Regions from separate parts of the Homo sapiens genome. Here all the other regions are linked to region 1. The links are contacts of gene promoters, found by promoter capture Hi-C in blood cells and fetal thymus (Javierre and others, 2016). All regions are on one chromosome and are shown on one strand. The core of a region is centred on a gene start or on the middle of the fragment in contact, and the rest is flanking DNA. Distances in the headings are between cores, read along the strand shown. Region 1 holds the start of DCUN1D3 (defective in cullin neddylation 1 domain containing 3). Region 2 overlaps CDR2 (cerebellar degeneration related protein 2). Region 3 holds the start of TRL-TAG3-1 (tRNA-Leu (anticodon TAG) 3-1). Region 4 holds the start of POLR3E (RNA polymerase III subunit E).

Region 1 (7,192 bases), core at 116-2,615:
AGGTCAGGTCACTTCCCTTCTTAAAACCCTTAAGGTACACATTAGCCAAACCCCTGCCTTGGGCTAAAAGGCGCTGCTACAGTCATGCCACTTCCCCAACTACATCACAGGGCACTCCGGCCCTGGCTCTGTTTGCTTCAGCCACATGGCCTTCTGGCTGTTTCCAACCTAAAAGTCCTTCTCATTGGCTCTTCTCTCCACCCAGAAAACCCATTGTCTCGGATCCCCGCAAAACCGTGGCCTCCTTTGAACGACCTTACCCGATTTCGAGGGGCCCTCCCCCCATCTTCTGTCACCTCATCCGGTCTTTGGGGGGCATTTCTCACTTGCTGATACCTTCTTTATTGATTTACTTAACTCTCTCCTGCACACGAATGGAAGGTAACGGAGCAACACCCTACTCTCAGGTTTGAAGAGCAAGAGAATTACGAAGCTGGCTCTCACGGTCCTAGGGAGTCTCCGTTCCTGTACGGGACCTGGTGTGGGTCAACGTTCCCCAGCCAGACACCTCTCGCCCCCGGACCGGCCCCTACCATCTCCCATTTACATTCGGGGGTCCAAAAGATTCACAGCCTCCGAGGGGGCCCCACGCCGGCACCTGAGCGTCCCCACACCAGGCCTCCCCTCTTGGACGCGCGAGCCACTTCCGTGAGGCAGGTCCCCGAGGCCGGTGGCGATGACACCGAGCCGCCCCCGCGAAGCTGGGGTCACACAGGCCCGTCTCCCGGCAACGCCGCAGCCCAACCTCCAAACCATCCCTGCCCGTGGGGAGCCAACCCCTTCCCCGCCAGTCTCCCGCGCCTGGAGTCGGCGCCTCCATCCCCTACACTCACTCTGCGTCAGTCCTGCCTTCCCCCACCCACAGAAGCGCGCAGCCCGCGGCGGGCTGGGAGGAGGCGGCGCCAGGAGCCCAGCAGAGCCGTGGCCGACCGAGCACAGGCTGGTCCAGTAGGCCAGGCCGGACCAAACCACCGGGCCCACCTCTGTGGGAGCACCAGTTCCAGGTCTGGGGGAGTCTCGACTGACTGACTCTACCCATCTCCCGCCGCATCCAACAATAAGCTGAGCTCCTCCTCCCCCTATTTTTCCTTTACGCTTTCATTATCCTCCCCGCTCCATTCCCGTAAAACAAGAAAAAAAAATGGTCCAGCCCAGCTCCCTCCGGGTTGCTAGGTCTTTGCCCTTACTTGGCGACGGCTTCGTACGTCTTTATGTGCGTCGTGACGCAATCTTCCACTCGTTCCCTCCTTGCCCCTCTCCCATTCTCCCTCCTGGAGCTGGCGGCCGGCGGGGTTACCGGAAGTGATGATGCAGGAGGCGATGGAGGGGGCGGGGCTTCGGGGCGGCCGCCGCCGGTGGGCCGCAGATGAAGAGGAGGCGGTGGCAGTGGTGGAAGAAGAGGCGGCGGCGGCGGGGGTAGGGAGCCTGGAAACGCGAGCGGGGATGGTAGGTGGTTTGGACCCGCCGGGCCGCCGTCGTTTCCAGAAAGGGTTTGACTGGAGGAACCTCTGGAGCAGCTGTGAGTTTTGGGGAGGGGGGGAGTTGAGGAAAAGGCGGGGGGGCATTGAGAGATGAAGGGGCGGGGGTTGGGTACCTTCGAGAAAGGGGGGTGGAAAGGGAGGAGTGGAAGTCAGCGCGTTGTCTGGAGTGGTACCTCTGAAAGAAGAGGCTGTGAGGGGAGCCTGTGGCGTGTCAGCCGCAGGGCTCAGAAAACTTACCTACTGTCCCTGCCTCCCCACCGCCAGCACCCCTCAACCCAGGGCCTGGGGATATGGGGTTGGAGCTGCCCTGGAGGGGGTGCAGACTCTGGTCCTCTGTCCTGGGTGAGCGCTGTGAGGTAGGAGCCCTAGGGGGAGGTGGTGGGTGAATCTCCCAGCTCCCTCCGCCCTCATTTCCCTCCCCACCCCCATCGTTCTCTTTAATCATTAACAGCCCTGGAATTAAGGGGCTCAGACCTGAAGGCCTTTTTGTGCACCTTTGCTATAAACGATAACCATCTGTGTCCGAGGTAATGAGGCTGGAGGCTTTGCCTGTATCCTCTATAGGAAGTGGGACGGGGTGACAAATGTATTGTTTGTTCCTCCACCACACCCCCCGCACTTCTCACCCCTCATCCTCCCCCATGCACACCCCTGGTTTCCACTTTAATTCTCTGTGGCTGAGTGGCAATAGTGGATTTTTTTTTCTTCCCCTTTCCTCCTTTATGGCACTTAGTGCCTTGGTTACCTCTTTTGAATTTGGTGTTCAGCCTCTATCCCAGATCTTAACTGTAAGCTTTGTAATACTTCATACAGGCTGTCACGTTGGGAGTACCTCTTACGCTCCGATTATAATGAGCATTTTCTTTTATGAATACTGGAATTCCAGAGCCTTTGCAAGGAATCCTGAATGGCATCATAGCCCAGGAATCAAGGTCTCTTGCTCGAAATACTTTATGTGTGAGGAATTTACATGTTGTCAGCTCTTCCCAAAATGATTTGCTAGGCTAATTCTGGATTTCTGTGTTTCTCTCCACCCACTTTTCATGATGCACTTCAGAGAACAGAAAACCCCATATTACTTTTTTGTTTCTACAATTGGACAATAGCTCTTTTATGTTTTTCTCCATTTATGTGTGACACACAAATCATCAGTGACACGTTCAGCTTGTGCTGATTTTCATCTTTACGTAGCTGATTCTTTGTGTATGGGGGTCCTAAATGAGACAGTGTGATCTGTTTAGTTTTGGTTTAAGGGCGAATACAAACCAATAACGGATGTGAAAAAATTATTTGAAGCAAAGAATGGAAAGAAGGCCTCTTTGTTGATATGCTGTTGGTTTAAAAAAAATCAAGGAGCACTCTTCTAGCCTCTCAGACAGATATCAGAGTGAAGTGTTATGATTTTCCTTTTGGTGTTGATACATTCTTCGGAAATCTTTTGTAGAATCTGAAACTGTTTTCTGAAGAACTTTAAGAGATAGTGCCTACATTTTCGGAGTCCTTTGATTAGAAAGTGCCCGTAAGTCCTGTCCTTCTGTAACTGAGCTTGATATGCATAGTGCTAGGAAGATCTGATGCTAGGAAGTCCTATTCAGGGCTTTCGGGCCCTAAAAAACAGAATATTTAATGCTTGATTATACCAGTAACAGCGTGTTTAGATGTTTCACAAAAATACAACAGAAGAATGACTACTGTTCTCACTTTAACTGATTTAGAACCTAGTTTGCCATTGACTAAAAAGTTCACAGTTCATTAATTCAACAAACATTTATTGACTCCTAAGTGCTAGCCAGTGTTTCAGGCACTGGGTGTACACAGGTGAACACAAGCAAAAGGTTCACCCTTTCATGGAGCTTACATCGGAGTGGGAGCTGGGGACAGAGAGAGACATAATATATATCCCAGTAAACCAGATTTTGATCAAGCGCTGAAGAAAATAAGAGTGATGTGATTGAAAGTGTCTTAACTGTAGATGCAGTCAAAGAGGATCTTTCTGAGGAAGTGACACTTAAGTTGAGCTTTAAGTATAAAGAAGGAGCCAGCCATCCAAAGAAAAGGGGAAGATCCTTCCAGGTTCAGGGAACAGCTGGTGCAGAAACTGGCTGGAATGCGCTTGTCAAGTTCCAGGGAATGGGAAGAAAGGGTCAGGGTAGGTGGGAGGTAGTGGAAAGAGGATGGGTTGGGTGAGTAATAGCCAGAGCTTAGTGAACACGGGGGAGAGTTGGAGATAAGGTCAGAGAGGTGGATATGGGGCTCAGAATAGGTAGGCAAACAAATTGCCAGAAGGAGTAGGAAGTAGAAAATGATGCTGCTTGTTGATTAATTCTGTCGCCTTAACTAGGGTCTTATCACTTACTGTTTTTGCAGGTACTGTTGGACTATCATAATAAAGTCACTCTGCTGAGTGGGAGAGGAAGAGGCAGTGGTCACCTGGGTCTTTTCTGGCAGATAAATTTCAAGCTGGGTGTTCAGATTTTCAGCAGGATGTTCAATTGAGGACACACCTCTTTCTTTATTTTGTCTTATATACTGCTGTTTAAAACTGCATAATAAGTTCTCTGAATGTGTTCTAGTATACGAATCCTCCTTTGTTTCCAGCTCTGTATGAATTTAAGGACTGGGCAAGTGTTAATAATATGCCCTTATCCATCTACCAAGATGACCATCAGGATCTAAGTTTCAAGTTGTCTTTTGTAGGGAGGCAGTTTATGTTGCAATAGTTCCACTCTTGTCTGATCCTTCTGATGACTAATAACACTCAGCTGAGGTGTAGGTTGGTACTAAAAGTTCACTCAGTGGATTACATTAGATAAATGACCATTGTGGGGCTCAATTCCACTGTGTCGGCATCTTTGGGCTGGCACGTAACCAAGGGATGTAACCTACTTTTGCCTTCTGCTGAGGGCATTCATCTCTAATGGTGTGCTGCTTTTCAGCCTCACCTTGACCAGACCGTCCACTTGAGAGGCCCAATCAAGACTCCTTGATTTGGCCCTCTTGAGCCATGTCACACTGGGCTGAAACAGAATATGCTTTTTTCTTCTCTTGAACCCTACAACAGTGACTAGTGTGTTCTTTGAGTGAATTGGCTCTTTGAGCCAGGCAGTTGAGAGACTTAAATGTTGCTTGGGCTATTTGTAGTAAACTCAGTATTAGAAATGCTAAATAAAACCTTTTAGTGTTTGGGGAAAACGAATCAGAAATTGAGGACTTGTCACCTGTTTTAGGTTCTAGTATTCTCGTGGCACCTGTAGAAGGATTATCGAAAACTTGAACAGAGCTTTCTGGGCAGTTCTGGGGGCAATGAAGGGGACGAGGTAGATCCTGGTACTGAATTACTAATTCTGATTTGATTGCAAACAGAATGTCTTTTAGTTAGCAAGCAAATGACTAAAGTAAACATCTAGGAACAGGCAACTTCTACTCTTCATACTAGAGTATCTCAAAGGAATAGAGAATTGGTAGTGAGATTTGTTAATTTAATTATTTGGCTTTGGCCCAGGTTAAAGGTTTTGGACTTAACTTATATGCTGATGCTTGGCATAAAATGCTCTATCTGATGGGTTATTAAGCTCTCCACTTCATTTTCATTTCAATGGTTTATTGTAACTCAAATATGAAAATATCCTGTAGGCTGAAGTTTCATCAGCCAGTTTGGAGACTGGTGGCTCTTTTCTAATTTTTGAAAGGGGGCGGGTGGGTAGGAGGGGACTTGAACACAAGGAGAAGCCATTGTCTCCTACATTGGCTACTAATTGTGTTTGGGGAAAGAATCCACAAATTTAAGTGGATTGGATTTTCGGAGCTGAGCTGGCCTTTTAATTTAGGGTACCAGTGGATTTATTTCTTACACTTTGCAGGCTTTTGGACAAACTCTTCTGAAAGGTGGGCAACCTAGAAAGCCAGTTGATGCCACTTGCTATTGGAGTTGTGGGTAAGTGGTTTTACATTGCATTACACGACTAAAAGGTAATCAGATTTTGCTACTGTTTTGGTGTACAGATGCTCTTTGATTTACAGTGGGGTTACCTTTTATAACCCCATCATAAGTTGAAAATATTGTTAGTAAAAAAATGCATTTAATATACCTCACCTACCGAACATCATAGCTTAGCCTAGCCTACCTTAAACATGCCAAGAACCTGCATGTTTGGCATGTTTGGCAAATGCATCTAATGAGCCTATTTTATAATAAAATATTGAATATCTCATGTAATTTATTGAGTGAATACTGGAAGTGAAAAACAGAATGGTTGTGTAAGTACTTGAAGTAGTCTGGGACTGTCTATGTGCTGAAGTAAGGACATTTAATTGTGCAGTAGTTGCCAGTTGTTTTGAGGTGAAGAAGTGGTAACTTAGATTGAAACAATGGTAATGACGTGGTAACTCCTGTTTTCCCGGGTCTTGATAACTTAAAATTATCTCTTTGTGTCTGTTTAGACTGTTCTGGAGCTCTTTGCACAATGGACCAGGGTTAATTGAGTTAGTGTCTTTCAGTTCAAATCTAGTTTCACTAGTTCTTACGTCTGTGTTCCTAGATGATGGTGAATCCTATTCTTTTGGGTGGTGAGAAGGGATTACCACAGAACTTGACCGTTTAATCAGTGAATAATTACAAACTAGAGCGTAACATATTTACATCCCCTTGGTATCCTGGGGGATTGGTTTTGGACCCCTTAGTTACCAAATTCACAAATGATCAAGACTTACATAAAGTGGTAGTATATGGGAAGGTGCAGGGAGTGGCGGTGATGCACATCTGTAGTCCCAGCTACTCAGGAGGCATTTCCAGATTACTTATAATGCCTAATACAGTTTGGGTGTGGTGGCTCATTCCTGTAATCCCAGCACGTTAGGAGGCTACTACAAATACCTGCCCCCTTTTTGTTTTATTATGTGGGAGGATTGCTTGGAGGCCAGGAGTTCAAGTCCAGCCTACGCAAGATAGTCAGGCCCTGTCTCTAAAAAAATTTAAAAAACTTAGCCAGGCATGGTGGTGCATGCCTGTAGTCCCAGCTACTGGGGTGGCTAAGGCAGGAGAATTGCTTGAACCCAGGAAGTTGAGGCTGTAGTAGCCGTGATGGAGCTGCTGCACTCCAGCCTAGGTGACAGAGCAAGACCCCATCTCAAAAACAACAGCCAAATACAATGTAAGTGGTATGTAAATAGTTGCTATGCTGTATTTTAAAAAATTCATATTATTTTTTATTGTTGTATTGTTATTAGGTTTTTTTTTTCCAAATATTTTTGACCCATGGTTGGTCGAATCTGCCAATGTAGAACCTATTGATACAGATGGCCAATTGCACTGAAAATGAAAGAAAAGATTGGAAGTGGCTCAAACTCTTATTCTTTGAAGTTGTGACATGTTGAAAGAAGAGAATGGCAGATAGGGAAATCATTTTCTTTAAGATGTGTGCAAATGAGACCTTCTTTAAATACCATACATCAGAACAGGGAAGCTTAGTAAATCAGTCTTGAGGTGGTGATTAGCTCTTGTGGCAAAATAAGTCACCTGTGCCCAGAGCCTGGATACCAGCCTGGTTGCATGCAAAGGCAGACATGTCAATGACTTCGTCTACCTTCCTGAGGGCTTGACCTTGTTCAAGAGTGTCCTTTGAGCTGTACTATATTGTTAGGCTTGGGATTGAATTGCCACACAGAAGCTTGGATTGCATAGTGTTGGGAAGCATCATCCCTGATCCTTTTGT
Region 2 (6,379 bases), core at 1,609-4,108, 1.5 Mb before region 1:
AATGAGCTGAGCAGAGGAAGTTGGTTTTATAGACAGGGGCTGAGGAAAGCAGAAACAGAAAACAAAAAATGGGTGGTTTCAAAGTTAATTTATTTGTAAAGGTTAAAGCAGAGGGAAGTCCCTTATGCTGGCTAAAACTGGCATGTTTGGGGGCTTGGCTATTATCTCTTCTAATTTCTCAGAAGTCAGATGAACAACTTTGCTTTGGCTTGCTGACATGGAACTTTAGCACAAGTGACTCCATTTTGGTTTGGTTTGTTGGGCCTAGGGCAGGGACTCAGTCCAAACCAGTGGTCTCCTATAAATTTTAACAGATCTATTAGTACTTGAAAGAAATGTCAAATTTCATTTAGAAGTTAACAAAAATGAAGATGTAGCTGTTCAGACCCTTTAAATTCATCCATGTTCACAGACCCTCTAAAGTCTATCCATGGACCCCAGGCTAAGAACTGCTGGCTTAGGTGGAGCAGCCAGGAGAACTGCATCCCCCCGGATAGGGGATCGTAAAGGCATTAGAGGAGGGAGGCACTTGCCTTGCAGTGGGGCAACTCCAAAAAAGGCAAAGATATCTCCCCTAAGTGTGAAATTTTAAAAAAATCAATAGCTAACAAATGAAGCTGGAAAAACCACTTGAGACAATTGGGAAAATATTAATGCTGAAACGTAATAGATGTTAAGGAATTATTGAGTTTTTTTCCCTTAGGAATTGTGGTTAAAATAAAACGTCCTAGAAATGTATGAAGATGTATACTTGAGATGCCTTGGATTAGCTTTAAAATGATTGGAGGACGAGGAAAGTAGGAGAGTAGAGATGAAATAAGATTGGCTGTATGTTGATAATTGTTGAAACTGGTTGATGGGTACGTGGGAGTTCATTAAACCATTTCTCTGCATGTATATATGTTTGAGATTATCCACAATAGAAAGTTTTATTTATTTATTTATTTTTAGACATAGTCTCACTCTGTCGCCCAGGCTGGAGTGCAATGGTGTGATCTTATCTCACTGCAACCTTTGCCTCCTGGGTTCAAGTGATTCTCATGCCTCAGCCTCCCAAGTAGCTGGGACTACAGGCGTGTGCCACCATGCCTAACTAATTTTTTTTTTTTTTTTTTAAGTAGAGATGGAGTTTCACCATGTTGGCCAGGCTGGTCTCGAACTCCTGTCCTCAAGTGATCCACCCGCCTTGGCCTCCCAAAGTGCTGGGATTACAGGCATGAGCCACCACACCTGGTCCACAATAGAAAGTTTTAAAATGCAGTGGATAAGATTAGCCATCTGTAGAAATTCAGTATTTGTTTGGACTGAGAAGTTAGGAAGGATCACTCAAGCAAGGTTAAGGTAACTAGTTTGTAATTTCAGGGAATTAATGATTGTTAAGAACATACCAAAGTGAAGCGTTATGATGATGAATGCTGCTGTGGTACAGTTAAAATATAACCTAATCTTAGTGGATAACTGCATCTAAGCTGAGCCCTATGCAGGGAGACGGTGAGCATTAAGCTGAAGAGTCATCATTGATCCAGTGAATGCCTGTGTCTCCTAGACCCAAGAGAAAAGGACATTGGTCAGGGCAGGGGACGTCCAGGATTTTCCATGTCCAAGATCAACATTTCTCTAAGTGTGATCTCTGGACTGCCTGTACTAATATCACCTGGGTTTGTTGCTAAAAATGCAGAATCCTGGCTCTACTCCAGTCTCAGCCGTTTGAGGGGAAGGGACCCAGGTTCTTACACTTTAATAAATCTTCTTCCAGGTGAATCTTAGCACATGTAAAGTTTGAAAACTGTAGCTTTAAATAAAGATGACAGTAGCTTCTCCTTATTGAGCAATTTACCATCTGCCAGATCTCATGCTGAGCTCTCTACATATATTAACGTTTTTGTAAATTATATATTTGTATATGTCAGGGAGGAAAAATATTTTTTTCCTCAACCTTCATGAGTGCTTAGTTGGAAAGGACCCCTGCAACAAAAGACAGATTAACAAGAGAAAAACAAGCTTACTAACATATCTATTTCATTTATATGTGTGGGAGATACCCAGGGGATGAGTCATTCTCAGAGGTGGCTTTGAATTCCAGCTTATGTAGTATCTTCAACAAAGAATGGTAATTTTTTAGAGAAGTGACAAGACAAAGGGGAAGAACTTTGTCTAGGGGCAGAACTTGTGGGAAGGCAAGTAAGTGGTGATAAAGGCCCGTTAGCAAAGCTTGTTAGTGTGGATTCCTCTGGTGCTGTCTTCTGGCCCATAAAGGTCTAAAGTTGTTAGTGGTTAACCTTTGTTCTCCCTGGTAGAGAGGGAGGAGGCAGGAACCTTTTTATGCCAAAGACGCATGCTTTGGGGTGACATAGTCCAGTCTCTCCCACACACATATTTATCTTTACAGCCTTATGAAGTAGTTGATGAGGAGAACTCACATTAGAAAAATGTGCTTGCTGTAGGTTACCCAGTTCTAAACAGCAAAGCAAGACCTCAAACCAGGTTCTGACTCCAAAGCCTGTGCTCTTAGCTACTATACCACTGCCTCCCATCAGACTCCTCTGATCCCATGTCTACCAGAGACTCTCATTCATGAATCGGCCTTTCACATGCCCTTTGTGGGGCAGCTGTGTCCTAATAGAGGATGTGAATATTCTTGTCACTGGGCAGGAACAGTTCCTGTTGTATATTAATAAATTAATGTCTGGCTTATGCATTAGCCTTTTTAAAGGTAGTTCTGAGTCCTAAAGAATACTTGATAATTTATACTTGATATAAAGAAGCTTGAAACATTTCTGCAGCTATTATATATATATTCTTGTGATTCTAAGCCTTTTTTCCGCTCCTGTGGAATCTCATCAATTCCTAAGAGATTGAACATGTTCCCATCAATGACAAGAACCTACTATGGAATTACTAGCCCGAGGGCAGGATTAAGGGCCTACTCCTTTAGTTCTGAGAAAGCTTCACGCATGAGAATTAGTGGTTGATTTCCAAAGGACCAGAAGAAGCTGGTGGGAGTTGAGGCAGTGAAGACTACACACAGGCTTTTATAGACCGTGCCATGTGCTCACCTTTCTCATTTAATTCTGCCAGTTCTACATGGTAGGTACTAACAGATCCACTTACTAATTCCGAACTCAAAAAGCTCTATAAAGCAAGATTTTTTTTTTCCCCTTAAATTTGCAACAGATTCATTTGGTAGTAGATCTTTACCTGAACTGATGTGAGGCTGTTTATAGTCTTAGTTCATACTTTTTGATGCAGAAATATTAATGCTTGATTACAGGGTGCTGCCCAGACCTCACAGGTATTATAAGGTGTCAGCTGTGTGTCAGGTATGAGCGCCATGTTGTCTTTCTAAAATTTAAAGAATTTTCCAAAACACTTTTGACTTCAAGAGTTTCAGATGAGAAAGTTGAAGTTAGGTTAAGTGTTTGTTCAACTCTTTGCTGCTGAGTTATGTAAATGGATTTGAAAAAAAAAAAGCCATATATGCTTTTTTCAACACTTTAAGGGCCCGTTGAGTGTCATTTAGCCCATTGTTTGTTAGCCTTGCAAATCCTTCTAGAGTTGTAGAAAAAGCCTCAAGAAGAGTGTGTTGTGTTGTGTTTGAGACAGTCTCTGTCACCCAGGCTGTAGTGCAGTGGCACGATCTCGGTTCACTGCAACGTTCACCTCCCACGTTCAAAAGATTCTCATGCCTCAGCCTCCTGAGTACGTGGGATTACAGGCGCGTGCCACCACGCCGGACTAATTTTTGTATTTTTATTAGAGGTGGGTTTTTGTCATGTTGGCCAGGCTGGTCTTGAACTCCTGGCCTGCCTTAAGCAATCTGCCTGTTTTGGCCTCCCAAAGTGTTGGGATTACAGGTGTGAGCCACCATGCCTGGCCAAGAAGAGTGTTTTTAAAGTCAAGTTCTGAGTCTTTTACAGTTTGATCATCAGTAAGCTTCAAACCATTTCTCCCCTCTTTCTGGTTCTGTCCAGGGAAATACTGTGACTTTTTCCTTTGGAATATATACTGTGTTTTAGTGTCTTCAGGTAGAGCTGAGCAGGGAGGGAATCAAGGTGACTTACACTGCGGCATTAAGGTTGGGATTATTCCCCTTTATCCTTGGCCATTTAGGAAGCAGTCTTAGCAGGACCAGAATAAATCATCTGATAAATTTCTCGTGAATAAGGAGGATAATGGTGATAAAACTCTCATAAAATTAAAAATAACAGGAGTCTTTGAAGCATATTAAGCTAAAATATATTTCTCGTCAAAGCAACATACTTTTCATTTTTTTTGGTCCAGAATGCCTCATTCAGAGAAAGAGATTGATTTTTTTTTCCAAATTAAGATCCTCCACATAGAAATAGGAACGTTTTACACTGTTGGTGGGAGTGTAAATTAGTTCAACCATTGTGGAAGACAGGGTGTCAATTCCTCAAGGATCTAGAACTAGAATTACCATTTGACCCAGCAGTCCCATTACTGGGTATGTACCCAAAGTATCATAAATCATGCTGCTATAAAGACGCATGCACACGTATGTTTATTGCGGCACTATTCACAATAGCAAAGACTTGGAACCAACCCAAATGTCCATCAGTTGATAGACTGGATTAAGAAAATGTGGCACATGTACACCATGGAATACTATGCAGCCATAAAAAAGGATGAGTTCATGTCCTTTGCAGGGACATGGATGAAGCCGGAAACCATCATTCTCAGCAAACTATCACAAGGACAGAAAACCAAACACTGCATGTTCTCACTCATAGGTGGGAATTGAACAACGAGATCATTTGGGCACAGGGTGGGGAACATCACACACTGGGGCCTGTCGGGGTGGGGATAGCATTAGGAGAAATACCTAATGTAAATGATGAGTTGATGGGTGCAGCAAACCAACATGTCACATGTATACCTATGTATCAAACCTGCACATTGTGCACATGTACCCTAGAACTTAGAGTATAATTTTTTTTAAAAATCCTCCACGTTAGGCTTTATTTCTGTTAAACATGATGTTTTTGCTTAAACTTTGATCACATGTTCCATGTTTTTTGTCTTAAGGGATTGTTATGTCTCACTTTAGATTTTTTAGTTGAATATTAATTTTATGCATGGTATATGCTTTGGAAAATTAGCCTCACAATGCACTGGGGTATTGGTGAGCATTAGAGGAGCTAAGCATATAAAGGACAGCCTGTGCTCATTTCTTATGAAGACAGGGAGTTTAATTTCTTCTTTTCTTAAAATAAACATATGGTATTGTGGTATAATAAAAATTATATATTTGGTCTTTGTCCCTGGTTTCTGGCATAGAACTCCTAAAACCCTTGGAATTTCCTGATAGGTTGAGGTCTGGTCACCAGAGAAGGCAACCACATGATTAGAGGGTTAGATCTATCAGTCCCAGCCCCACAACCTCTGGATAGAGGGAAGGGTTGGAGCTTGAGTTCAGTCACCAATGGCCAATAATTGAATCAATCATGCTGATGTGAGAGAAGACCTGGAGAAAACTGAAATGGGTCTAAAGGAGCTTCTGGGCAGTGCTGGGAGGCCAGTGAGCCCAGAGATGGAGACTCTATGTCAGCCCCACCCCAACAAGAGTTGGTGCTGACAATCGGAGAATTGGTGTTGGAACAGCAGAACAGCAGGTATCTTTTTTTTTTTTTTGAGATGGAGTTTCATTCTTGTTGCCCAGGCTGGAGTGCAATGGCGCCATCTCGGCTCATTGCAACCTCTGTCTTCCAGGTTCAAGCAATTTTCCTGCCTCAGCCTCCCAAGTAGCTGGGATTACAGGCGTGTGCCACCACACCTGGCTAATTTTTGTATTTTTAGTGGAGACGGGGTTTCAGCATGTTGGTCAGGCTGGTCTCGAATTCCTAACCTCAGGTGATCCACACGTCTTGGCCTCCCAAAGTGCTGGGATTACAGGCGTGAGCCACCGCAGCCAGCCAAGAAACAGCAGGTATCTTATCTGTTTGTGTCACCTGGTCCTGATCTTCTCTTACAGTATCTGACGAAGCAAGTGGAACTTCTACGGCAGATGAACGAACAACATGCAAAGGTTTATGAACAATTAGACGTCACAGCAAGGGAACTGGAAGAAACAAATCAAAAGCTAGTTGCTGACAGCAAGGCCTCACAGCAAAAGATTCTGAGGTAAATTTTCTAGAATCTGACAAGGAAGGACTAGGGGGAAGTTCTTTAGTATAAACTAGAATAGAACATGGCTGCAGTGGGTTTGGGTCAATATGGGATAAGGTTTAATTTAATTCTTTTTGGAGAATGGAGATTAAATAGACATCCTTTCCAATTAAGAAAGCCCAGTGTGAGTGGTTTGCACCTAATCTCTCCTCACCGCTTTTGCCCTTGATTCAATATGACAAGCAGCAGTGGC
Region 3 (6,489 bases), core at 3,494-5,993, 1.3 Mb before region 1:
GGCAAGATGGAGTGGACTTAACCAAGAATGCAAAACTATTTTTTTTCAAGGAATATTCCTGCTGCCAACAGTGTTCTAGGTCCTGAGGATACAGCAGTGGATGAACAAGACACCATCACCTGCCTTCCTGGAGTTGACCTCCTAGCAGGGCCCAGTATCATCCTGGGAGAGACCCCCTACTTGAAACAGGGTGTTTGGAGAGATGTGTGTGGAATACCACCAAGTGGCCAGTGCCTGTATAAGAACCCTTGTGGTGGCTGGGCCACGGTGGCTCACTCCTGTAATCCCAGCACTTTGGGAGGCTGAGGCCGGTGGGTCACCTGAGGTCAAGGAGTTTGAGACCAGCCTGGCCAACATGGCAAAACCCCGTCTCTACTGAAAATACAAAAAAACAAAAACAATTAGCTGGGCTTGGTGACGGGTGCCTGTCATCCCAGCTACTCGGGAGGCTGAGGCATGAGAATTGCTTGAACCTGGGAGGCGGAGGTTGCAGTAAGCCAAGATCATGCCATTGCACTCCAGCCTGGGCGACAAGAACGAAACTCTGTCTTAAAACAAAACAAAACAAAACAGAAGAAAACAAAAACCAAAAAGAACCCTTGTGGTGGGAACCCTTGAGATACCAGGAGAGAACAAAGTCATCACCGTCACCCTTCTCATATGTGCCAGAGATTCATCTAAATGCTTGGCACATGTTTAGACACAAGATCTCTCTCTGTCACCCAGGCTAGAGTGCAGTGGTATGATCATAGCTCACTGTAGCCTCAAACTCCTGGCCTCAAGCAATCCTCCCACCTCAACCTCCCAAAGGGATGGGATTACTGGCGTGAGCCACCATACCTGGCCAAATTACCACATTTAATCTGTATTGACTTTATCCTCTGATATAACCGGAGCAGTGCCTGACACATTGTAGGTGCTCATGAAACATTTGCAGAATGAATGAGTTTAATCCTCACAGCAAATCCTGTGGGGTAGATACTATCATTATCACTCCATTACAGGGATGAGCAACTGAGGCCCAGAGAGAAGTGACTTTTCCAAGATCACACAGCTCATGGGAGTTTAGACTGTGTCATTCCCAAGCCCATGGGTTTACCCACTTGATTAGTTTCTTATTGCTGCTGTAACAAATTAACACAAATTTAGTGGCTTAAAGCAACACAGATTTATAGTGGTACTGTTCTGGAAGTCGGAAACGCTAACATCAAGGTGTCAGACACCTTGTGTTCCCTTTTTGGTGCCTCTAGGGGTGAATCAATTTCCTTACCTTTTCCAGCCTCTAGAGACTGCCGACATTCTGTAGCTTGTGGCTACATCACTGGGACCTCTGTTTTCACCCTCATACCTCCTTGAATTCCTGCCTCTTTCTTTTTCTTTTCTGAGATGGAATCTCGCTCTGTCGCTCAGGCTGGAGTGCGGTTGCGCGATCTCAGCTCACTGCAACCTCCGCCTCCTGGGTTCAGGTGCTTCTCCTGCCTCAGCCTCCCGAATAGCTGGGATTACAGGCACATGCCACCATGCCTGGCTAATTTTTTGTATTTTTAGTAGAGATGACATTTCACCACGTTGGCCAGGCTGGCCTCGAACTCCTGACCTCCAGCAATTTGCCCACCTCAACCTCCCAAAGTGCTGGGATTACAGGCATGAGCCATCGCGCCTGGCTACCTGTTTCTTTCTTATAAGGACTTTTGTGATTATATTGGGACCACCTGGATAATCCAGGCTCCTCTCCCCATCAGAAGATCCTTAATTTAATCACAACTGCAAAAGTCCCTTTTGCCACGGAAGGTAACATATTTACACGTTCAAGTGTGGGCATCTTTAGGGGTCATTATACAGACTGCCACTCCCACTTACCCAACTGTCTCTACAACCTTGGATTTTTGTTTGCCATTTTCCTTAAACGTGCAAGGAAATAGACAACCCTATGTGATTGTGAAATTAGGAAAATGCATACTGAAAAGATGGGAAACTCCTGAAAGAGAAGGAAGGGGGAATAGAACTTGGGGACATCAAAGGAGACTTGAATTTTATCTAGAGTGTTAATTTTAATTTTAATTTAAACAATTTCAGGCCAGGCGCGGTGGCTCACGTCTGTAATCCCAGCCCTTTGGGAGGCCGAGGCGGGCGGATCACCTGAGGTCAGGAGTTCGAGACCAGCCTGACCAATATGATGAAACCCCGTCTCTACTAAAAATGCAAAAATTAGCCGGGCGTTGGTGGCATGCGACTGTAATCCCAGCTACTTGGGAGGCTGAGACAGGAGAATCGCTTGAACCTGGAAGATGGAGGTTGCAGTGAGCCGAGATCGCGCCATTGCACTCCAGCCTGGGCAACAGGAGCGAAACTCAGTCTCAGGAAAAAAAAAAAAAAAAAAATTGAAGCGAATATGCAAAATGTTAGTAATAATTCGAGATGATAGGAAATGGAATTTTGCTAGGTTATACTCTATATTTATTGCTTTTTTTTTTTTTTTCTAAAAGCACTAAAATCCTCTGCACGTACGAACAAACGTCTTGGGAGGCTGTGGAATGCCGGCTGGCTGGGGCACCCGAGGCTAGTTACTTAGCATCTCTATTTTCCTCCTCTGTAAAATGGGTCGCACAGCTTATGAAAGCTTAATAGTTTTTGATATGTTAGGAGCCCACACATGCAAAGAATCTGCAACAACGTTCAATGGTTTTCCTCCCTGAACTCTTGATTCTTACATCGCGAGGGCAAGGGCTAGGACATGAGGCCACTCAGGGCTACAGAGGGGCCTTGAACTGGACAGAGCGTCTGCACCTTGGGGACCCAACATACAAACTGGGGCTCCACGCAAGATCCCGGCCCACCCGGGAGGAAGCGGCAGCACGGGAGCGCCCCTACGTGGCTGTAGGCAGGATCACGCCCAAGGAAAACTCAAAATCAAATCCAAACACACTTGTGAGGATTTAATATTAAAAATATTAATTTTTGATATGTAGGCACTCTTCATTTTAATAGTGCGTTCCTAGTGTGTTTACTGCTGCTGATCGCGAGAGCACTGTGACTCCAAGTCTCCGTGAGCAACGCAGGAGACAGCGGTTCTATATTGAGCATGCGCAAACTTTGAGGGCGGGGCGCCTCCGTCATCACACTAATATGCCGGCATAGGAAGCCCTACGATCGGGAGGTAGCGTGGCCGAGTGGTCTAAGGCGCTGGATTTAGGCTCCAGTCATTTCGATGGCGTGGGTTCGAATCCCACCGCTGCCACACCTCAGAAGGTCTCACTTTTCTATCCATAAACCATCTCTTTATGTAGTCCTTTGCCAACTTCTCTTCCTTTTTTCTCCTTTCTGATGTATTTCTTTTTTAAAGCTTTAGATTGCTTATAATGGATTTTTTTTAATGGAAGGGGGAAGGGAAGAGAAAAGGCAGAAACTGCAGTGCAGGCTCTTTCACTGTCTAGCCCAATACACAAACCTCTCTTTCACCTACCCATCCAGCTCCCTCAAAACAAAACAAAAAAACAAAACACATCTCCCCATTTCCAGGGGAAAGCATCTGAGCTAGCTTGAAAAGTTCCCAACAGCCTGTCTGGGTCTTCCTGGGGTTAGTTGGGGGTGGTTGTAATCATGACCTGAGTTAGGGACGGGGGTCCCTTTCTGGCCTGCTCCGTGTACTTTAGAGGGCTCCAGGGACCCCATAAACCTCTGTTGTCAGGTGACCCTGGAGTAGTAGGGGTCTGGCCCTATGTGGGGGTGCCAACCTTGAGGTCTCTGCTTCATTGATTCACCTCTTACTTGGTTTTCAGGCTTGATTTAGGGGCCTTCATTTATAAACAGTTGTTGAGCTGTTTATGAAGGGCCTACTATGTGCCAGAAACCGTGCTCGTCCTGAGGCTGTGGTGGTGTACAAGGCAGGCATGTTTTTGAACCCATCGACTTTGCAGACATTGTCATTTTAATTAATTACACCTGTGAGGAGTGTTAGGCAGTACAGCATGCTAACCTGGCCCCTGAGAAGCAAGGAAGTGACATTTAGCTGGGGCCTGAAATTGAGATTAGCCAAGTGAAGGCGTGGGAGGGGATTTCCAAGAGGGAACTCCTAAAGAGCCTGGTAAGGCTGAGACGCTGTGAAGGTAATTCAGGGCAGCTGCACAGAGAGTGGAGGTGGAGTATTGGCAATAGGTGAGGCGAAGAGACAGGCAAAGAGGGCCATGAATGCCGAGTTAAGGCTTTGAACTTGGTCCCTTCCCAAGGGCAATGGGAAACCATGGAAGGCTTTTGAGCTAGAGAGTGGCATGTTCCAATTTGGAATTTAGAAAGTTCACTGGTTGGGCACGGTGGCTCACACCTGTAATTCCAGCACTTTGGGAGGCTGAGGCGGGTGGGTCACCTGAGGTTAGGAGTTTGAGACCAGCCTGGCCAACACGGTGAAACCCCGTCTCTACCAAAAATACAAAATTTAGCTGGGCATGGTGGTACGCACCTGTAATCCCAGCTATTTGGGAGGCTGAGACAGGAGAATTGCTTGAACCTGGGAGGCGGAGGTTGCAGTGAGCCGAGATCGCACCACTGCACTCCAGTCTGGGCGATTGAGTGAAACTCCGTGTCAAAAAAAAGAGAAAGAAACAAAGAAACAAAGAAAGAAAAGAAAGTTCCCGCTGGCAGCAGGGACAGGAGGTCCCATTCAATGCCTATTGCAATTGTCTAGGAGAAAGGACAGTGGTTTGTACCACAATAGTGGCCGGGTGCGGGACAGAAGGAGTGAGTCAGGGAGACATTTTAGAGATAGATTTGACAGAATCCACAGATGAGCATGTCGAGAAGAAGAGGATCACGTCAAAAGTGACGCCCAGGATTTGGGCTTGGGTCATTGGATGGCTGGTGGTGCCTCTCCTCTCCTGGGAGGGAACACAAGATAGATGGAAAGCAGGTTTGTGGGAGATGATGACTTCAGTTTGATTTTCATTGAGCTGGAGATTCTTGTGGGATATGGGGTTGAGTAGGAGGTTGGACATAGATTTCTGGAGGTCAAGAGAGCACTCCAAGGAAATGATACAGATTTGGGAGGTATTAGAGACTGAGGCCATGGGAAGGGATGAACTCATCCAGAAAGATCCCACAGAGGGAGAAGAGGGGCCAAGACAGAGACCCGAGAGACATCATCTTAAAGGGAGGGCAGTGGAAGAAAAGCCAGTGAAAGAGATGCGAAAGAGACGGGAAAGGACTGGCCAGCAATATACGTGGAAAACAGGTGTGGTTTCATAGAGACCAAGAAATGCGGATCAAGAAGGAGGGGGCAGTCAACTATGCTGAACACAGCTAAGATAATTGGCAAAATAAAGACGGAAAAATATCTATTAAGATTTATGGACAAGATCATTGATGATCTGAAAGCCATTTTGGAATGGGTTGAGGAGAAGAAATGGAAACATAAGTATGGTCAATTCATCACAAAATTTGATTTTGAAAAGGAGGAGCAAAAGGAACAGTTGTGGGAGGGAAAATGGGGGAATCAAAGGAGGATTTTTTTAAATTTTAAAGATGGGGTCTCACCCTGTTGCCCAGGCTGGAGTGTAGTGGTGCAATCATAGCTTACTGCAGACTCAAACTCCTGGACTCAAGTGATTCTCTTGCCTCAGCCTCCTGGGTGCCACCACACCTGGCTAATTAAAAAAAATTTTTTTTTATGTAGAAGCAGGGTTCTCACCAAATCGCCCAGGGTGGTTTTGAACTCCCGACCTCAAGCAATCCTCCAGCCTTAGCCTCCCAAAATGTTGGGATTACAGGTGTGAGCCACTGTGCCCTGCTGGGAAGATATTTTCAAGATGAGAGAGACTTGAGGATGTTTTAGATGCCTGGCATTGGGTTTACAACTGGGAATAGCTTCAGCACCCATAATGGAAAGCCTATGAGTTTGTCTTGATAATCCCTTCAGATCGACTATGTCACCTTGGGCTGCCCACTGTGACAATTCTGTTTTCTGCATTTGCGATGCTTCTCTTTAGCGTCTCCAAGTAAGCTAGAACCTCCTACTTGCCCTTTCAGAACCTCATGGAGGCTAGTGGTCTGGGCAGTCTCAAAAATTCTTACAGTGATTCAGTTTTCCTGTTGGGTGGGGATGCCACCTCCTTTTCCATTGGATAAAGATGCTTGAAAGGAAAAAAGCTTTTTTGACATAGCGATCCATGTTGTCCCCATGCCCAGGGTTTACACATTCTGCTTCCAGAGTGTTAGGAAATAGATGAGTTGGAGAAATCCAGAAAACAAATAAATTGATTCTTGGCTTTTGGATTTTCAAAAGTAGGTTTGGCACTAGTCAAAAGATCTAGAAAATAACGTGAGCAGTGTGAGATTGTTTTTCCTGCTCGAAGAACAGATTTCCCAGGATTAGCAGGGAGAAGAAAGAGAGGAAGGAAGTGAGTTTGGATGTAAACATGTTATCGAGAGGAAAGGAAGCCCCAGGACCGCCAGCTTCAAATGGTCCGAGGTTTGCGGCTCTGAGAGAACGAGACCAGA
Region 4 (6,317 bases), core at 819-3,318, 1.4 Mb before region 1:
TTGCCACTGCACTCTAGTCTGGGCAACGGAACAAGACTCCATCTCAAAAAAAAAAAAAAAAAAAAAGTAAATCATATTATTTCCCTGCCTAAGACCTGTCAACTGCCACTGTCACATAAAATAAAACCCAAACTCCTTTCCATGAGCCACCTAAGGCCCTACATAATCTTGTCTCTGTCTTCCCCTCACCATCCAGGCTGGTAGCCACTTGCTGGGCCTCCAACAAGGCAAGCCCCAGTCCACCCCAGGTCCTTTGCACATCATCTATTCTCCCACAGGGATTTCCAAGGTTGCTCCTTTTTATTAAATATCATCACCGCCTGCAGGAGAGGATAGGTTCCCTGACCACCCTATTTTAAAAGCCTCCCCCAGCCTCCTCCCAGGCCCTACCACATCTCTGTTTTCTTTCCTTGGTGGGTCTCATCTTAATCTGGAACTACCTGGTCTATTTGCTCAGGTGTTGTTTGTCTTCTGCAATAGAACGTAAGCTCCATGAAGGCTTCTCAGTGCTTCAGTTTCCTCAACTATGAAATGCAGACAATCATACTTTACTTCATCAAAGCTGTTATGGGGAGCATTACTTTAAAAAAAAAATCCAGTGCTGGTTCTCTCAATACCTAGAACAGTGCCTGGCACGAAGTTGACACTCAATATAGTACAAAGAATACTTTATATTTAATCTTCTCATTAGCCCTATCAATAGAGATTTATCATCTTCAATTTGGAAATGACGAGACTGAGGTTCAGATATAAGCAACTCATCCAAGGTGGAATGAGGACAGAAACTTGGGTCTCGCTATGTCAAAGATCCTTATTCTTATTCTTAACCACTATACTGCACGGTTTTCTGATAAACGGCAGTATGGTTAAGTGGGTAAGAGCTTGGACCCGAGAACAAAACTGTGCAGGTTCAAATCCCACCACAGCTGCTTGGCATCTGTGACCCACCTGAGTTGTCTGGGTTTGGTATTCCTCCCTATTTTCATCCCTAAAGTAGGGAAACTAAGTACCGACCTCCAGACCCCTGCGGGGAAGGAGTAAGGACAGGACGCTAATAAACGTAACCTCTGGGAAGGTTTGTTATTACTTGACAACATGTTTTCTGCCAACGTAAGCGGGTAATGACGCTAAGCCACAAGTCAAACGCTGCAAGCAGGAGCGTCACCCGGTTTCTACTGAGCCGTCACCACAACCCTATGAGGTAGGAATTTCTATTATCTCTATTTCACAGATGAGGAAACTGTGGAGATCGCTAAGATCTCTTCTTTCCGCCTCCAAGCCCAAGGAATTCTAAAGCTAACCCAAAGGAACGACCTTGTTTGTTTACTGACACCTCCTCGGACCGAATGGTCAGGGCTGTATCCGGAACACAGAGTTGGCTCGGTAAACACTGAATGGTTGCCTGAATAAATGAATGAGGAATCCCTGGCCTCGCCGGGCAGAGGCTAATCCGGTTCAGCTGCGAAGTGGGGGCTCCGGCAGGCGCAGGTGCCCTCCCTGCCCATCGGGGCGGGCCGCCGATCCCGAGCCTCGCTGTCCAATGGGTTTCTGCTCCCTCGCGGGTGGTCAGGCCCCCCTTCTCACGCCCACCACGCAGTCCCTGCCGCGAGCCGCCACTACACCCGACGCGCGGACAGGTGTTTCTTCCGTAGGAGGCCTCCCAGGCCCGGATAGGGCAGGTCGGCTGGACCCTGAGTCACCGCCGCCAGCGTCGGCCGCGGCCTCCCCAACTCCCAGGTGTCAGGTCAAGGAAGTCAGAGTCCGGGGTCGGCCTGGAGCCGGCTGCCCCTCCTCCCCGCCCGAGTCCCGAGAGGCCTCCAGCTGCTAGGCACAGCGCGGCGCGGGCCTCCTTGGCCTACTCGGGAATCTAGCCCAGGCCCACGTCGTGAGTGCGGTCCGGCTCAAGCCCCAGCTCGGGCACTGCCAAGACGGGACTCACCTCTCCGCGGGGGCCGAGCGCGGACGGCGGCAACGGCCCAGTTACCCGCGGGCTGCAGAGACGGCGGCGGCCCGGCTCTCCTCTCAGGCGGCGGCCATGTTGCTGGTGGAGAAACTCCGGCGGACACGTGGGGGGGAGCGGGCCGGCCCCAGCGTTTCCTCTTACCCACAATGCCCCGCCCCGGTGCACGCGGCTCCGCCCCCTCCGCCGCGCCATTCATGCAGGCCGTGAGCCCCGCCCTGCAGCAGGGGGCGCTGATGGCACGCGCAAAACTGAGCCAGGAGTGTATGCAGCGGGGACAAAAAGACAGCAACCCTGGCAGCGGTGGGATTCGAACCCACGCCCCCGAAGAGACTGGAGCCTTAATCCAGCGCCTTAGACCGCTCGGCCACGCTACCCAGCTGCAATATGTTTATGCCAGAAAGCTACTTAATGCTTTTGCTTTTGCATTTAATCTGGACATTGCGAGGCGTTTTCGCTGAGGTTTTTTTTTTGCTTAACGTGTGTTCAAGGTGATCCCTATAGAATTATTTTAAAAAGCCGTGTTTTGGAAAATAAACACTTGCTCCAGTCTTTAGACCCAGGTTGGTTCCGAATAGGTATTAGAGCAAAACGCATTTTTAGAAACTTTACTCTGAGTTGGATGGTTAACCCGGAGACCCCTGGTTAACCCACAGGTAATCCATACGACCCGGATTGGGTGTCTCCGGGAGAAGAAATTGATCTGATCAGAAACATGCACCAGGGGATCTGACGGCCAAACCCTGGAGCTGGTCTGGGCAGTTGTCTCTGAAAAATTATGTTTAAATTTTTACTTACACAAATAACACGCGAATTATTGCAAAATATTTAAACTTTGCAGATAAGGTACAAATGCTCTTTGACCTTGACTCGCATCCTAGGCCCCTCCGCCGAGGTAACTAACCATTATTATCTGTTTAATATGAACTATGGTTTGAATGTGTCCCCCAAATTTCATGTGTTGGAAATTTAATCCCCAATGTGGCAGTATTGTGTGGTGGGCCCTTTAAGAGGTGATTAGATCATGAGGGTGGAGCCCTTATGAATGGATTAATCTCTTCATGGATTCATGGATTAATGGGTTAATGGATTAATGGGTTATCTTGGGAGGGGGACTGATGGCTTTATAAGAAGAGGGAGAGAGACCTTAGCTAGCAAGGGAGCAGCTCAGCACCCCCTCCATATGATGGCTTGTACTGCCTGGGAACTCTGCAGGTGTCCCCCACCAGCAAGAAGGCCCTCACCAGATGCACACTCTTGACCTTGGACTTCTCAGACTCCATAACTGTAAGAAATAACTTCCTTTTCTTTACAAATTACCCAGTTTCAGGTATTCTGTTATAAGCAACAGAAAATGGACTAAAACACTATATATCTTTCTAGATCTTTTGCTGTGAATTTATATGTTTATATCTATATGGATATATATAGATATAGCCATAGAAGATAGCTTTGTTTTTATTGTGTATGGATTTGAACACAAATATTGTCACATTATTCATATAGATCTGCAATTGGCTGTTATTTTTCACCAGACTGTATTTTAAAATACCTATCCGTGTGGATATGCAAAGATATTAAAAACAAAAATGCACAAAAATTACAAAGAAAAAAATTATCATCCATAGTGCCACCACCTGGCATTAAATTAATGACTTAGTATTGTGGCATTTTTTTCCTTTTCTTTTTTCTTTTCTTTTTTTTTTTTTTTTTTTTTTTTTTTTTTGATGTGGAGTCTCGCTCTTGCTGTCTAGGCTGGAGTGCAGTGGTGCGATCTCCGCTCACTGCAATCTCTGCCTCCTGGGTTCAAGCGTCTCTACTAAAAATACAAAAATTAGCCTGGCGTGGTGGCACATGCCTGTAATCCCAGCTACTCGGGAGGCTGAGGCGGGAGAGTTGCTTGAACCCGGGAGGCGGAGGTTGCAGCGAGCCGAGATCCCACCACTGCACTCTAGCCTGGGCGACAGTGAGAAACTCGGTCTCAAATAAATAAATAAATAAATAAATAAATAAATAAATAAATAAATAAAAAATAGATCACACTATTACAAATAGAAATTATTAGACCATTGCAAATAGAAATAAGTCCCCCTCCCATTCTCCCCTGTCTATAACTGTCATGAATTTGATGTGTATCTTTCCAATAATTTCTTACATTTTTACTATAAAATTTATGAATAATATCTAAAATGGTTATCTGTATGTTTTTCACTTATATAAATGTTAGCACATTGTACTGATATCCTAAAACTTGCTTTTCTCATTTCAACAGTATTATTATTATTATTATTTTAAGAGAGTGTTGCTCTGTCACCCAGGCTAGAGTACAGTGGTGCAATCATAGCTTACTGTAGCCTAGACCTCCCGGGCTCAAGCCATCCTCCCACCTCAGCTTCCCAAGTAGCCAAGATTACAGGCATGAGAGACTGTGCCAGGCCCAACATTATGTTTTTGAGGTCTGTTATGATGCCTATAGATCTAATTCATTCATTCCATGCCATGTACAACTTTTAAGTTGTTACTAAATTTTTGTCATTACACACAATATGGCAGGAAGTATCCTTGCACATGGCTCCTTGTCTTACGTATGGACATTTCTCTAGGGTATACACTAGAAATGAAATTGCTGGTCTATATTTATACTTTCCCTAGTATTATATAATAATAATATTAATAATAGGCTGGTCTCAGTGGCTCACTCCTATAATCCTAGCACTTTGGGAGACTGAGGTGGCAGGATTGCTTGACGCCAGGAGTTCAAGACCAGCCTAAGCAACATCGAGAAACCTTGTCTCTACCAAAAAACAAAAGAAAAGAAATTAGCCGGGCATGGTGGCATGTGCCTGTAGTCTCAGCTACTTGGGAGGCCGAGGTGGGAAGATCCTTTGAGCCAGGGAGGTCAAGTCTGCAGTGAGCCGAGATTCAGGTGCTGCACTCCAGCCTGGGTGAGAGAGTGAGACCCTCTCTATATAGATATAGATATGCATATATTTTTCCATTTTGCCAAATTATATGACTTTTGATGACTTTTTTTTTTTTTCTATTTCTTCCTGAGTCAACTTTGGCAAGTTGTCGTTTTCTGGGAAAACAAAGCCCCATTACTTGATTTTTCACATTTATTGGCGTAAGAAATCTCAAATATCCCTCATATCTAAGGTTTTGTCCTCTATCATTCTCTATCGTTTCTCTTTCCCTCTGTCATTTACGTGGATTACTTTCTCCATTAGTTCTGTTCAACACAGGGAGTGGAGTCAATGCTTAAGGTGACTGAATGGGGGAATTAGGCAGGAACTCTACGAACGCTGGTGATGCTTTAGACACATCAAAAACTATATAAATCACACTTTTATAAGTAGAATTCTCATTTTGCATTGACTGGTATTAGACTTTTCAGGGCCATGATTCAAGTTTCTGGCTAATATCCAGTTGGTACACACCCCTAACATTTGGGCATTTTATGTCTTTCCTCTTCAATCCCTCCTTAGCCTGGCTTTTCTCCCCCTCCATCCACCACCTTTTTTTTTTTTTTTTTTAGAGAGACGGGGTCTTGCTTTGTTGCCCAGGCTGGAGTACAGTGGTATGATCACAGCTCACTGCAGCCTTGACATCCTGGGCTCAAATGATCCTCCCATCTCAGCCTCCCAAGTAGCTGGGACTAGAGCCACGCGCCACCACACTGGGCTAACTTTTGTATTTTTGTAGAGACGGGGTCTTGCTTTGCTGCTTAGGCTGATCTCAAGCTATCCTCCCACCTCAGCCTCCCAAAGTGCTAGAATTACAGGAGTGAGCCACCACACCTGGCCATCCATCTACCTTTAACATATGTAATGATATGCAAAGATTTTCTTGTGCTAGAAAAGTTTGTTGCTCTTCAAGACATTAAAAAAAAATACAGAAGCAGCCATGGATTGAAGACAAAGGGTAGGCATTGTGGGGAGTTCAAAGCTGAATGAGGAATAACCCCTTTAAGTCAATAGGAGTGTTTGTCATGGTATTTTAGTACCAGGAAGGACTTTGTTTGTGAGTTGGGTACTGGATTTTCCAAAAGGAAATATCCTCACAGTCAAGGATAATTGCTGGCATCTTTGCCCAGTCTGATTTTTCTAGGAACTGCCTGACCAGCCAGAGAGTGGGTCCCTGGCAGCCACCTTTGTGCTGCACGCCCCACCCCCACAGCCATGGCTAGTGGGTTCTACCGTTCTTCAGTGGACGTAGGATTCAGGTTGGACCAATCAAATTCTCTCTTGAGAATGTGAACTGAGACTCCGTGAGTTACTGATTTTGTTTTTTTTTTGTTTGTTTGTTTGTTTTGAGACAGAGTCTCGATCCATTGCCTAGGCTGGAGTGCACTGGCGTG

The links. The method cuts DNA at HindIII sites, captures the fragments that hold promoters and counts their contacts. A CHiCAGO score of 5 or more calls a contact.
Region 2: a contact is called between a fragment that was not itself captured here and the fragment with the promoter of DCUN1D3 in region 1, in 1 of 17 cell types (erythroblasts). The highest score is 5.6, in erythroblasts.
Region 3: a fragment that was not itself captured here is called in contact with the fragment with the promoter of DCUN1D3 in region 1 in 1 of 17 cell types (total B cells); the score reaches 5.8 in total B cells.
Region 4: a contact is called between the fragment with the promoter of POLR3E here and the fragment with the promoter of DCUN1D3 in region 1, in 1 of 17 cell types (erythroblasts). The highest score is 5.5, in erythroblasts.

Annotation. Positions count from the first base shown.
Region 1 is chr16:20,894,531-20,901,722 of GRCh38, reverse strand. It overlaps DCUN1D3 (defective in cullin neddylation 1 domain containing 3), which reads left to right and starts at 1,365. Exons shown (of 3, transcript NM_173475.4): 1 at 1,365-1,519. It overlaps LYRM1 (LYR motif containing 1), which reads right to left and starts at 952. Exons shown (of 4, transcript NM_001128302.3): 1 at 834-952. RefSeq lists enhancers at 1-760, 761-1,546, 1,756-1,805. The HindIII fragment of the contact is 5,697 bases long and covers 1-2,276 here.
Region 2 is chr16:22,349,463-22,355,841 of GRCh38, reverse strand. CDR2 (cerebellar degeneration related protein 2) reads left to right here. Exons shown (of 5, transcript NM_001802.2): 3 at 5,993-6,141. Among named protein-coding and RNA genes, the nearest start is that of CDR2, 22 kb to the left of the region's middle. The HindIII fragment of the contact is 181 bases long and covers 2,768-2,948 here.
Region 3 is chr16:22,192,460-22,198,948 of GRCh38, reverse strand. It overlaps TRL-TAG3-1 (tRNA-Leu (anticodon TAG) 3-1), which reads left to right and starts at 3,157; the gene lies at 3,157-3,238. RefSeq lists a silencer at 2,692-2,771 and an enhancer at 3,522-3,651. The HindIII fragment of the contact is 2,795 bases long and covers 3,346-6,140 here.
Region 4 is chr16:22,293,160-22,299,476 of GRCh38, reverse strand. POLR3E (RNA polymerase III subunit E) reads right to left here and starts at 2,068. Exons shown (of 21, transcript NM_018119.4): 1 at 1,940-2,068. TRL-AAG2-4 (tRNA-Leu (anticodon AAG) 2-4) reads right to left here and starts at 2,337; the gene lies at 2,256-2,337. RefSeq lists silencers at 848-987, 1,998-2,447 and enhancers at 1,198-1,337, 1,780-2,324. The HindIII fragment of the contact is 19,375 bases long and covers 1-6,317 here.